Regions from separate parts of the Homo sapiens genome. Here region 2 is linked to region 1. The links are contacts of gene promoters, found by promoter capture Hi-C in human tissues and cell types (Jung and others, 2019). All regions are on one chromosome and are shown on one strand. Each heading gives the region's core, a stretch centred on a gene start or on the middle of the fragment in contact. The rest is flanking DNA. Distances are from core to core; before and after follow the strand shown.

Region 1 (6,161 bases), core at 2,307-4,806:
CAGAGGTTGCAGTGAGCCGAGGTCACGCCATTGCACCCCAGCCTGGGCAAAAAGAGTGAAACTCTTATCTCAAAAAATAAAAAATAAAGAACTGCCTACTGAGATAAAGGGTGTAAAAGACAAAGATTGTGTTATGAGACTCTACAATAGGGGGGCCTGGCCTTGTGTAAGACTAGGGGAGGGCTTCCCTGATGAAGTGATGTTTAAGGGTCTAAAGAAGTTAATTAGGCAAAGTGGCAATAATGAGGAAGAGAAGAGGAAGAGAGAGTCAAGCAAATGGAACAATATGTGGAAAGGCTCTGAGGCTGGAGCTCAGACAGTCAGGGGGAAATGGTCAAAGATTAAAGTGGACAGAGAGGCCTGGCCAGGGCCTTTGGGGTCTGGATTTTGGTCTTCATCTTGAGGGCAAGGGTGCCTATTGAAAGCTTTTAAGCAGAAGATCAACTTCAAGGAGGAGCCATTGGTGGAATGTGCATCTTGAAACCATCCCCCTAGATACAGTGTGGAGAAAGGACTGGAGGGAGGCTGAAGTTGAAGAGAGGAAGTCAATTAGAAATGGGCCAGGCCAGGCTGGGCGCGGTGGCTCACACCTGTAATCCCAGCACTTTGGGAGGCCGAGGTGGGTGGATCACCTGAGGTCAGGAGTCCGAGACCAGCCTGACCGACATGGAGAAACCCTGTCTCTACTAAAAATACGAAATTAGCTGGGCGTGGTGGCAGGCACCTGTAATCCCAGCTGCTCAGGAGGCTGAGTCATGAGAATTGCTTGAACTTGGGAGACAGAGGTTGCAGTGAGTCAAGATTGTGCCATTGCACTATTGCCTGGGCAACAAGAGCAAAACTCCGTCAAAAGAAAAAGAAAAAGAAAAAAGAAAGAGAGAGAGAGAAAGAAAGAAAGGAAGGAAGGAAAGAAGGAAGGAAGGAAGGAAGGAGCCAGGCCAAAAATGAAGGGGCTCAGGTTAGGAAGGTGACAATAGGGTGAGGAGAGGTGCACAGATTTCAGAGAAATATAAAAGGCAACATGGCGAGACTTGGTGATGAATCGGACTGGGTAGGGGGAGGGATAAGAAGGAGTCTCTGGTTTCTGCTGGTGCAGTGGGAGGAAACCGGTGCCCGACCCAGAGGACGAATGCTGGTGAGGCTGCAGGTTTGGTGCGGGGACAGGAGGGCTGGCTTGGACAAGCTGGTCTGAGCTGCTTGTGAGCCAGATGTTGAGACATCAGCCACAGAACCCTGGCCCACCTTGACAGTCTCACCGCTGAGTATCAGACAGGACTGTCAGGTCAATCAGTTTTAACGGTCCATCTTGGCCAAGCCCTGGAGTCCTCACGGGGGATGGAAAGGTGACAGGCTCTTTTCCTAGCTTGAAGGACCGCACAGTTTAGTAGACAGAGGAAGAAGCATAATTTCCATTCACTGTGTTGGAGGAAGTGGAGGAGCTGTGGGAGCAGGAAACAGCCCTTAGTTCTACCTGGGAGCCCAGGTCAGCAGCCTGCGGCCATCTGCCGCCACGTGAGACTACCCAGCACTTGCAGAGGGCTCCTGCTTCATGCCTTTGCCCCGGCACCCGTTCCATGTTTTTTGAGCACCCTTGTCTCCACTTCCACCTGTATGTATCCTACCCATCCTCAAAACCTATCCCAATGCTATTATCTTCATGAAGCCTTCCTAGGTCCTCCCCGTTGCTGTCAGCCTTCCTACTGTACCCCCACGCTTGCCACACGTAGCAATTGAGGCATGCTTCCTTGTGCCCAAGTCTGGCTCCCCACTAGATGGAGAGTTCTACCAGGGCAGAGGCGTGATTCTTCTGTGTCCCCAGAGCCGGGAACTGAGCAGGTACAGCCGCAGTCGCCGCATAGGCCAAGTAAAGGGGGCGTTTTCTCTGCGGTCCTTGGAAACACTTGGGCATGCTCAGTGTCGCCCATTAGTCCCTAGAACCAGTCCCCTCACCCACTACTCTCCAACCTTCTGATGCTCCCTCACTTTGGCAGTCTTTAACCTTTCAGGTTTTTCTCTTTCCCCACTCCTCGCCCTGCAGCCTTTATTTCCCAACGGCCGCACCCTCACGCTCCTTTCAGCGGAGAAATAGACCGCGCTTTGTGCGGAAGCTGTCAGCGAGCAAGCGTCCCGTCTCCTTTAAGAGTGATCCGCGAGGGGGTGTGGCTTGCGGAGAGCAGGCCCGAAAGGGGGTGCGGCTCCTTTAAGTATCCGCCGGCCCGAGGCGCGGAGGCCTCCGGCCGGCGGGCAGGGGCGCGGTCGGTCTGGGAGCAGCGGCACCGCCCGCAGCGTCCCGGTTCCTCGAAGTGGGGCGCGTCCGCTTTAATCGGGGAGAGAGATGTGGGGGCACGGGCGTTACATCAGCCGCCACGTGTGGGCCTAAGCTGGCGTGGAGGCGGCGGCCCCGCCCCCGGCCCCTGCGGTGGAAAAGTACCGGGGCGCCGAGGTCCCCGCCCCACGGCCCCGCCCCCGGGCCGGCACCGGCCCCTCCCGGCCCTCCGGGCAAGCCCCACTCTCCCGCCCGGCCCGGCCCCGCCGCCTGCTCGAGATCTGCAGTGGCTGCCGGGTGCGGAGCGCCGGCCGGGGGTGGGCTCTCCAGGGCTGCTAGGCCCCTGCCCTCACCTGCGGCCGCCCGGCCCCGCCCTAGGTGTGCCGGTAATGAGGGTTGGGGTGGGGAGGGCACGGATTCTTCCCAGGGTAGCAACCCCCAGAGAACTCCCGGCTCGCTCGCAGTCCCTTCCCAAAGCCGCGGCCAGAGCGCGGACAAAGAGAGGCTGAGTGCGCCAGGACTCTCCCGCGCGGCTTCCCGGGTCCCGCGGGCGCACGGGCACTGGAACCGGCACCGGGAGGGCAGATAGGGAGGCAGGCCGGCTGGAGGGGCCAGATAGGCAGCCAGGCTGGCGGGCGCTGAGAGGCGATGGAGCGAGCGGGAGCCCGCACGCTGGGTGCAGGCACGGCCGACTGTCGACCCCTGCAGGCCCCCAGAGCGCAGAACCACTGGCTCCTCGGACGGACAGTGCCACGCTCTGGCTCCGGCGCTACCCGCACAGCCTGCGCCCGCCGCCCCCGATCGAACCGGCGTCTGGCGCCCCCCCGCCACCCCACGCAGGAGCTCCCCCCACTTCCCTCTCCCTCCCGCTTCAGCTCCTTGGTGACAGCGGTGACACCCAGACGCGCGCACCTACCCCGATCTTTGCGGCGAGACAGACATCCCGGTGCGTGCACCCACACTCTTACCCACAGATGCCCGCATACATGCGCGATCACACACACACACACACACACACACACACACGCACACGCTGGTCCTGGGGCTCAGCCCCGCGGAGCCGCCGAACACTCAGACCGACGGCAGGACAGACGGAGGCGCGGGCCCCAGCGTCCCTTCCCCCAGCCCCCTTACCATGCTGCAGCCCCCGGCCCAGGCGTGCTGGGTCCGCACCGCGGTGCGCCCAGGTGGCTTTCTTAAAGGGAAAGTTGCATCAGCCTCCCGAGGCTCTGTGCCGCGCCGAGTTCGCCCGCCCCGCCGCGCCGCTCGCAGCTCTTCCACAGCCTGTTGTGTTTTGGTTTCGGGGAGGCGGGGGCTAAGAGTTTGGTGAAAGTTTGAAGAGTGGAGAAGGCTTGGGAGATCTAGCCAAGTCCCTCCCCTACCCGAACGGCTCCCCTGGCCGTCCTCCCCTCTCCATCCCATCCCCTCCTCCCGTGCCGACTTCTCAGGCTCCTCCTCCCAGGGAATAAAATTACAAGTCTCTCCAGCTTTCAGATGATTGATCCCCACGAACCCCTGGGAGTGAGCGCCACAAAGGAGTCCCCTTCTCCGCCCCTGCCTCGCTGCCCTCCAGCTGGGGCCCTTGAGCAAGCAGATGTGGGCCCCTTCGGGCTAGGCTGGAATGAAGCCAGAAGGCCTGGGGCACTATGGGGGGCTGAGGCTGGAGTTAGCCCTCCAGGCCCCTGGCCTTCTGCGCCTGCGTTTCCCCTAGAGAGAAGTCAGAGCAAATTCCATTCCCTTTGGAGCAGAGCCGCTAGAGACTGTGGGCATTGCTGGGTAAGGCCTAGGTCCTACTCCTTGGAACTGGAGGGCTCGGGGTAGCCCTTTCTCAAATTTCCCTCCTGGACCACCGGCTTGGTCAGCTCTACTTTTGAGGTGGTGTTACAGGGGCTGCAGACACCAACCTGGGATCCCTCCTCCTTCCATGGTGAGACAGACCTGGGTTACAATCTCAGCTAAAAAAGAGTCTTTGCCAAAAGGAGCATGGTGAGCCTCGGTTTCCTCCTCTGTGAAACAGAGAGAAGGGGCTAAGGAAATGCATGTGTGTGTATATAAAGCCCATTGCTCCAGGCTGCCTCTGGGGAGTGGTGGCTGGCATTTGGAATGAGCCTCCCACATTTGCATACCTTGTGAGAGCCACCACCTTTCATGGAGAGTGGCCAGTTAGTTCTGTCAGAGGAACTGGTTTTTGCCCCAACCTGAGTAGGGCATCTGCTCAGGGAAGGGGCCCAGCCCACAGAGGCAATTTCTACTTTGGACCCTGAGTCCTCACCATTTTCTGGCCAGGAAACAGTTTAATTTTTTTCCTTGGGACAGTCAGCCTCCAAGAAGCGAGTGCACACATGCCAAACTCACGTGAAACCAATTGTTGAGTGAGATTCCAGTTTATTAATTTATCAGAGGCACTGAACAAGATAACAGGCATCAAGCCCAGGCATTCCCTGAAATGCGAGCTCTCTCAGGCCACACGCGGTCCATTCCACAAACCTTCCTCAGAGCCAAAGTACAAAGACAGCTCTCTGTTGTCTCCTATTCACATTGGACTCCTGATCAGATCTGGGAAGACACCTTAGTCTTATCAGCGAGATTATTTTCACTTTTACTTTGTCCCCAAACCTAGTAGGTATAGCATGTTTGGGATTTTTAGTCTCCTACAAGCCAAGTGCAGGTGTTTCTTGCGTGAGTTGTGTGCACACACACCTGGATCTAGGCAACCTGTTGTGTCTGTGCCCCCAGACACCTGAGCCCCGATTGTGTATTTGTGTAGGTACATCTGTGGAAGACTGATTGTGTGCACTGCAGCAGGTCTGTGTAGTTATGTGTGTGCTCAATTCCTGGGACTGGGCAGATGGGGTCCAAGCCCTCTATATCTCTCCTGCCAGGACGTAACTTCCTCCATAAGTTTTTTTTAGGATCTTCCTCCTTGCCTCCTCGCTGGGGCTCATCAAAAGGGATACCACCCCAGGGAAGGCAGATGGAGGATGTCGAAGAGGCCCCCAAGTAGAGGAAGGCGGACAAGGAAGAGTATGAAGGGGAAAAGGCCTCCCTCCTTCTCCCTTCCAGCAGTAGGCTGGGGTGGGGACAGGCCTAGAAGAGGGCACTGAGCGCTAAGAACACTCAGTGAAGATTCCGAGAGTTTTCATGGCTCAGGGAATCCATATGAAGGGAGGCAGGTGTAGGGTGCTGCAAGCCAGACTTCCAGGATGCCCTCAGGCCTAGGGGCTTGGGGCCTGGGCTGTTAGAAGAGAGGAGGATGGGTGCTCAGGGGCCAGCCCTCTGAGGCTCCGTCAGAAAGAGGAAGGCTTGGGGACTAACCTAGGGACAGGGACGTGGGGTGAAGAGAAAATTTTCCTTGGAGTGTTTAGGGAGATTGGGGATGTTGGCCAGAGGGCTTTATTAGACTAACACTGGCATAGCTCAAAGTCTATTTGTATACATAGAAACAGATTCATGGATATGTGTGTTTTACCCACCTTGAACCAGAAAGAGCTTCAGGAAACCACACAGCTGTGTCCTGAGGAGACACTTGTGAGAAAGATTCTGGTTTGAAAAGTCATCTTCCTGAGACAGGGACTAGAGAGGCTGTTTTTTTCCAATCAGAATGAGGCCCAAAGGAGGCAGGTTTGGGCCCAGCCCGGGTGGGAGCTGGGATAGCCTCCGTCCCTGGCTGTGAGCCCCTGGCTCTGAGCAGCTGGCCTGCAGGGTGGGAAGGGCATGGCCAGCCTGGGCCACTGTGGGGCGGGCAGGGGGATCAGGACTGAGGACAGACTGGGGCAGGGGAGGGGATGGGGGACGGACGGGGTCAGACATTTTGACGGGCCTGCTTCTTCCTGGGGCAGGGCAGCAGTTGGGCTGGGGCCCACCCACCACCCACTGCAGGCTGAAATGTGGCTCA
Region 2 (6,161 bases), core at 1,717-4,216, 290 kb after region 1:
GTGGGTTTCTGTAGTTCATCAAGTCATTATTAGGTGGTATTTTAAGGAAGTGTAAGGACACAGCCACTCTATTTTATATTCCAGAAACTGTTTTTATATTAATCTGTATTTTAATTGGGTAACAGCTGCTGCCTACAGACTTCCCATGGTCTAAAAGGAAAATAAATTAGAAAGATTAACTACACTGTTGTTTTGCAAAGCTTTAACCCACAGCATGCCCACCCGGCTGGCACCTCCACACCCTTTCCTTGCCTGGAAGACCAAAGAACTGCCCAGTAGAGGGAGGGCCTGAGTCAAAGAGAAGAAAAGATGGTCCGCTAAGGGCTGGGGGGCTGGGAGTGGGGAAGTGCCCTCAGTCAGCAGCTTCAATAATCTTGGAGTACAAAGGACTCCTCCTTTTATTTAGTCAACAACTATTCATAGAAAGCCTACTACGGGCTGGGCCGCATTACAGGAACTAGAGATCCGGCAGTGAAGAAAAATGTAAAAACTCTGCCCTCATGGAATACATGTTCTCAGCAGCCCCCTCCTACACCCAGCCCCAACTAGTACCGAGAGCCTCTACATCTTCCAGAGCCGCAAACCGAGCAGGCAGTTGCCCTGTTTTGCCTCAGGCATGAAGGGGCCAAAGAGAGTCAGGAGGAGGCTTATTACCAACCCCAGATTAGTGACAGACACCCACAGGCCCACCGCTGCCCATTCTGGTCCAGCTTCTCTCCTGTTAAGCCTAGGGCTTAGACACATCTTCAGGCCTGGAGCTGAGGCTCAACATCAGGACCATCCTGGAAAAGGCGGACCACAGCCACTCTCACTTCTTAGGAAGCTCCAGGGTCCAAATGTTAGTCTTGTGTCTGGTCTGAGTTTCAGGCGGCAAGGTTAGGTCCACTCCTTCTCTTGGCTCCCACCAAGGGTCTCTCAAATGAGCTGAATGCCAAGGGCTTAAAGAAAGTCTCACTCACACAGGAAAGCAATGCACCCTTGCCAAGAGCCCTCCCTCCCTGGAGATAAGGCTTAGGTCAGCACCTGTGTGTACCCCATAAGCCCCTGCCCTGGGCCCCAGGAAAATCACTGATGTGGGGCAAGAAAATCACTACACCAAAATGGAAAACCAGGGTGCTGCTCTGGTGTTCTGCTGCAGGATGCCTCACTGCAGACTAAACCCAACTCTCCCACCTGGAGCTGGGGAAATGGAGCTCCAGCATCCTGGGGCTTTCACAAACTCCACTCCAGTGCTCAGTGATCCTAGAATCATCAGCCTGGGAGGAGCCTAGTGAGGTCAGCTCCTTCTCTCACCATGCTTCCCAGACAACAGCCATTTTCATTTGTGGCTCAGTAAAGCATGGCTCACAGCTGAGCTCCTCAAGGATTTGCATTTAGCCCCCAGAGACACAGGGGCTTGAGCAGTTGGCTCAGCTAGACAAAGCCTTCTCAGGGAAGGCCTCAGGCTCCTGTATTAATCCCTCCAAGGATGGACCACCCCTTTTCAGCTCTGCCAAGGCACTGGACAAAGAAGGGATGAAATTAAAGTTAGTTCTGGGCTGGGCATGGTGGCTCAGCCTGCAATCCCAGCCCTTTGGGAGGCTAAGGCAGGAGGACTGCTTGAGCCCAAGAATTTGAGACCAGCTTATGCAACATAGAGAGACCCCATCTTTTTTTTTTTTTTTTAAGTAAAAATTAGTTCCTCTACCTGATACTAATGACCTATAAGACACGTGTAAGGTTTATACAGGATGCTATGAGGGAACGAGACAATTTTATCAAATTAATACTGGGAAGTTCTATCTTAGGCCTAACTTAAATCCTTCATGTTACAGTTTAAGCCCAGTCCCACTTGGGTTAATACATGTTTGTAAAAAGCTTTCACTCCTTACAATGAAAGGTACTAGAGCAAAGCCAAGTATTACTAAGCTGAGAACCAGGGCTCACAGGCTAAACAGAGCTCAGAGACCTTAGCCACTTAAAGCAGGAGAGGTGAGAGGAAGAATTAATGTGTGCTCTGTGGCTCCTTTCAATGAGGGATTACAGATTAACTCCCACTTCTCCAGACTCAGAAACCACAAGGCAAGGGGCTTTTGACCCTGACTGATAACATGGCTGGTTACTGAGATCCCCTACCCTCACAAGGGCTTTGTCCAGGAATGAGCTGGCTTCATCAAGAACACTAGCAACTACAGGAAGCAGCCCAGGAAACTCAGTGCCAATAGCATGTCAGCATCCAGTGCTTTCTCCTTTCACAGTTTATCTCCAACACAATCGTATTCTGACACCAAGACAGTTTGTTGATTACATAAGCACTTGTCTCTGGTGTGCAATCTGATAATCAGACCCACTCTTTCTCTTCAGACAAAGAGACCAATAAATCTCACCCTTTATAAGTACAGGTGCAAGACAAAGCCCTTTACTGGCACTTAGCAAAATGAGTATTTCTCTAGTTTTTTTTTCATGATAACAACAACAAAAAGAAGACATGGTTAGGGACTGTGCAGCAGCCCAGCTGCTAGAGATAGAGACTTGATGAACTGGAGCAGATTCTAGAGGTCAAAGGGAAAGGGCTCGGGAAGGAATGAAACACATCCCATCCTATCTCTGTCAGAACCACGTCTCCAGGCCGACTCTCAACTGAAACTAAGAAGGGACCTCAAGAAGGGTACTAACACATTCCTAATATGAAGCAGTAAAAGTAGGAGTCTCTCTGTGTGTGCTAGAGACTTGTTCAAACTGGAATCCTTCTTCCTACTGTCCAGCACTGAGCCTGCTTCTCTCCCCAAGCATGTGCCCATGTGTGTGCACATGTCATACGCATGTGCGTGCACACACACACACACACACACACTGGGGTTAAGAACTTCTTGTGCACAAGAGAGAAAATCCTGCCAGAGGAACTACTTAAGTATAATCTGGAGGTTTGGGACTGTTCCTCACACTTACTAATGAGAGATTTTCTCTGGTTGGAATGACCTCCATCCCCACCCGCAAAAGGCACCAACTGCCAGGTTGGATGAGGTTTCAGAATGACAGCCCCCATCCTGTGTCTATGCCTCTCGGAGATACAATTCCATCTGGTATGGAGACAGGGCAAAATATATATGATCTGAGGTTTTCCAAACAAGACTTTACTTACTTACTCAAAATAACAAGTCAGCAGTACAGTTGTTTTTGGGAGAGACAGAAAATAACTCCTTGACAATATTCATTCATTTAAGGGACACGTATCAAGTGTTTACTTGGTAGCAGACCCTAATGATGGGATGGAGATGGATCAGGTCTAGTTTCTTCCCTCAAAGAACTTATAGTCTAGTGAAAAGACAGATAAATAATTATAGTATAAAGTATCTGATCAGTTCTATGTTGGAATAAGCACAACTCAATCTGGGGATCAGGGAAAGTGACCCTAAGCAGAGTCCTGGAGGTCAAGCAGGAGTTGGCGGGGAGAGTGGGAACTCTGTGCAGGCAGGAGGACCATCATGTGAAAAGACAGACTGTAAGAGGGCAACCTCTGGGTGAGGGGAGCTAGGTGGGAGATGAAGCAGAGAGATATGAGGCTGGCCAAAAAAGGATGGACAAGATCATGGCGAGTTTTGAGCTCTGGAAACCTGAGACAAAATGGCAGACCCGGTGCCTACAGAACAACCACATTTTCACTTTTAGAACAGCCTTCATAATAAAGATCCCAACTACCACTCCTACTCCCCTCCAAATTATGTATGTGCATCCTTGGGTGAAGCTTTCTAGAGAGAAGAAACTGTTCATCATAGTCTCACAATCCCTCCTCCCATTCCCACAAAAAGTAGCAGCAGCAGCCTTACTCTAAAAGAAGTCCCTCTTCTTCCGATACTCTCAAGCATCCACTCCTGCCCAGGGTCCAGCTCCAGCAGAATACTGTTACATTCCTAAACAGGTAGCAAACTTACTAAAATTTGGGCCTGCCTGTCTACGTAAGGACAAGAGGACATTAGCCTTTCAAGGCCAGTGGAGGGCTCAGGTAACTGGCTGGCTTAAAGAAAGTCTTTCCTTCCCTTCGCATAAGCAAGGGAATTTTCATCATCATTAAAATGGTGATTTTTCAAAAAGGGCAGAAAAGTCAGATTAGCGCCCCCTGGTGGTATAGGTAAATCCCAGGGGAAAGGGGAAACCCCGGCAGAGGAAGGCGAAAACCAGAACCCAACATCATTAGTTGGAATAACAAAAGGCTTAAGAGGCTAGGCGCCTTGGCAGATGGATGCCTGCAACAAAAGCCCCACCTGGGTCAGCTGGCAAACACTGGCATCGAATTCAGGAGCAACCTCGAGACCTCCTGTCTGGGCTAAGTCAGCCTCAGGGCCCACCAGGGTCAAACAGGCTCATCCCCAGCCTTCTTACCAAGGAGACTGTTTGGGATAACTCAAGAACCCTTTTTCACCTATTTCATTCACATGTAGAAGATAGGTCTCTAAATGAAGGCACAAAGTCTCTAATGTACCTCAGCCCCAGACTCTTAAAAGATTCTCATCACCCCTGCTACCACACATTCTTAACCCCTGATTGCACCACAGCCTGTTGGCCACCACTGAGTGCATTACATGACATGTCACAGGGAAAAGTAGCCACAGAAGACTTCACACAGTTCTGGGAGTTAGAACTTGCAGGGGCTCCTCCCCTCTGCCAATGGCTCTTTTGAGCCTCCAGCAATCATTAAAATCTCAGTTAGGCCCAGTTTCACAATCTGTAAAATGCAACCAATACTAACCTGCTGACAAGGAGGCCAAGTACAGTACCCACCTAGGATAAGCAGATTTCAGCCTTGGCCAGCCAGGTCTCATGCTTCACTGAGACCACTCTTCTCTTCCCTCGGTGACAGAATGTACCTTCGACAAACTCAACCTACGCTTCACACAGGACCACTTTACAGGAGGACAGAGTAACAATGCCAGAAAGCTAAGAAGGCCTGAACATAACCCTGCCTTCCAAGTGGCTGAAATCTTTACCTCTTGCCAAGGGGCCCTAAGGAAAACTGAACTGGAAAGAACTTGAACCCCAGAAATGCCATTCTGCTCCTGGTCTCCAAGTGCCGGTCACCAGGAAGGGATGCTGGGGAAGCAGGGGTAGACTAAGCCACTGCTCTCCCTGGGTCCCCAGTAACAACAGTGACCTGAGTGGAGTGGCAGACTTCATAAAACCTAACTGCTAGGTCTAGTGTGCACTTGCCTTAAGGATTGATAAGCCCTATGCTTTCTCTAAGTGGCCTATATAGAGCACCAAGGATTCCAAAATTCCCCTCCCAGCAGCCCCTGCTGCCCACTTCCAGGGCCCTTACCTCTGTACAGAATGGGGTAAGCTGTGGATGGACTACAGGCTGGACATACATGTGAAAGGTAGACTCAATCTCCATGGTCCGGCCATTTAGCTTTAGGATGGGGAACTCGATGATTTCCTGGAGTGCCAAAGATACAGAAAAGGAAAAATAAGTTATTGTAATCAACCATTTCCAACAGTAGCTCCAAGTCAACAAAGAATGAGTGTTTTGGATTCATTAGTGTTTTGGGTTCATTAGCTCCTGCCAGGCCAAACCCAAGATTGAGTGAGACGGCACCAGCAGTTACAATCCTAACCTTCCCACTGCTAATATCCTCATAGGTTCCAGGGACTGAACACAGCCCTCATCCCCATTGTTTCTGGAAATGGGAAGGAAGACAGTGGTATCATCTGCCCCAGTTTCTCCAACTGGTTCTCTAGCAGAGGCTTGCTAACTTGAGCCCCTAAGAATACGCCCTTCTTTCTCTTGCCCAGGTCCCTGTCCTGAAATGGGTCTGATCTCCTGCCATATAGACAACCAGCCATCAGACCAATGCATAGATTTCCTTGTATGAAGTTTGAACCAAGCTGGTAAGTTTCTTCATTAGTTCTTATTTTTCAAAAAAAGATAAAAAATAAAGCCAAAGGGGATCCCAAAGAGAAGGAGAAAAGAGTAACAGTAATAGGAGCTAGCGCCTCCCACCTTTCAGGCAGCACACACTACCTCTACAACGCCAGCCCAATCGCTTAGCTAGCCTTTCCCAGTCCACTGAAACATAATGGAAGAGAAGGACAAGGAGTGACAATTTGTTTGGTGTCTCTAAGATTAATTTGTCTCCGCTATTTAATAGAGATGCACAGCACCAAGGTCCTGGTGTGCAAACAGGCTT

What was found. The method cuts DNA at HindIII sites, captures the fragments that hold promoters and counts their contacts. A contact is called where the count stands out against the background at its distance.
Region 2: a fragment that was not itself captured here is called in contact with the fragment with the promoter of SLC6A9 in region 1 in 1 of the 25 tissues and cell types used here (bladder).

Annotation. Positions count from the first base shown.
Region 1 is chr1:44,027,906-44,034,066 of GRCh38, forward strand. It overlaps SLC6A9 (solute carrier family 6 member 9), which reads right to left and starts at 3,557. Exons shown (of 14, transcript NM_001024845.3): 1 at 3,401-3,557. LOC107984948 (a long non-coding RNA gene) reads left to right here and starts at 2,509. Exons shown (of 2, transcript XR_007066054.1): 1 at 2,509-2,644. It overlaps LOC124904168 (a long non-coding RNA gene), which reads right to left. Exons shown (of 4, transcript XR_007066055.1): 3 at 5,740-6,161; 4 at 4,638-4,822. RefSeq lists enhancers at 932-1,491, 1,492-2,049, 2,691-3,287 and silencers at 2,159-2,708, 3,029-3,098. The HindIII fragment of the contact is 16,348 bases long and covers 1-6,161 here.
Region 2 is chr1:44,314,335-44,320,495 of GRCh38, forward strand. It overlaps ERI3 (ERI1 exoribonuclease family member 3), which reads right to left. Exons shown (of 9, transcript NM_024066.3): 4 at 5,294-5,410. Among named protein-coding and RNA genes, the nearest start is that of ERI3, 38 kb to the right of the region's middle. RefSeq lists an enhancer at 321-490. The HindIII fragment of the contact is 6,119 bases long and covers 1-6,026 here.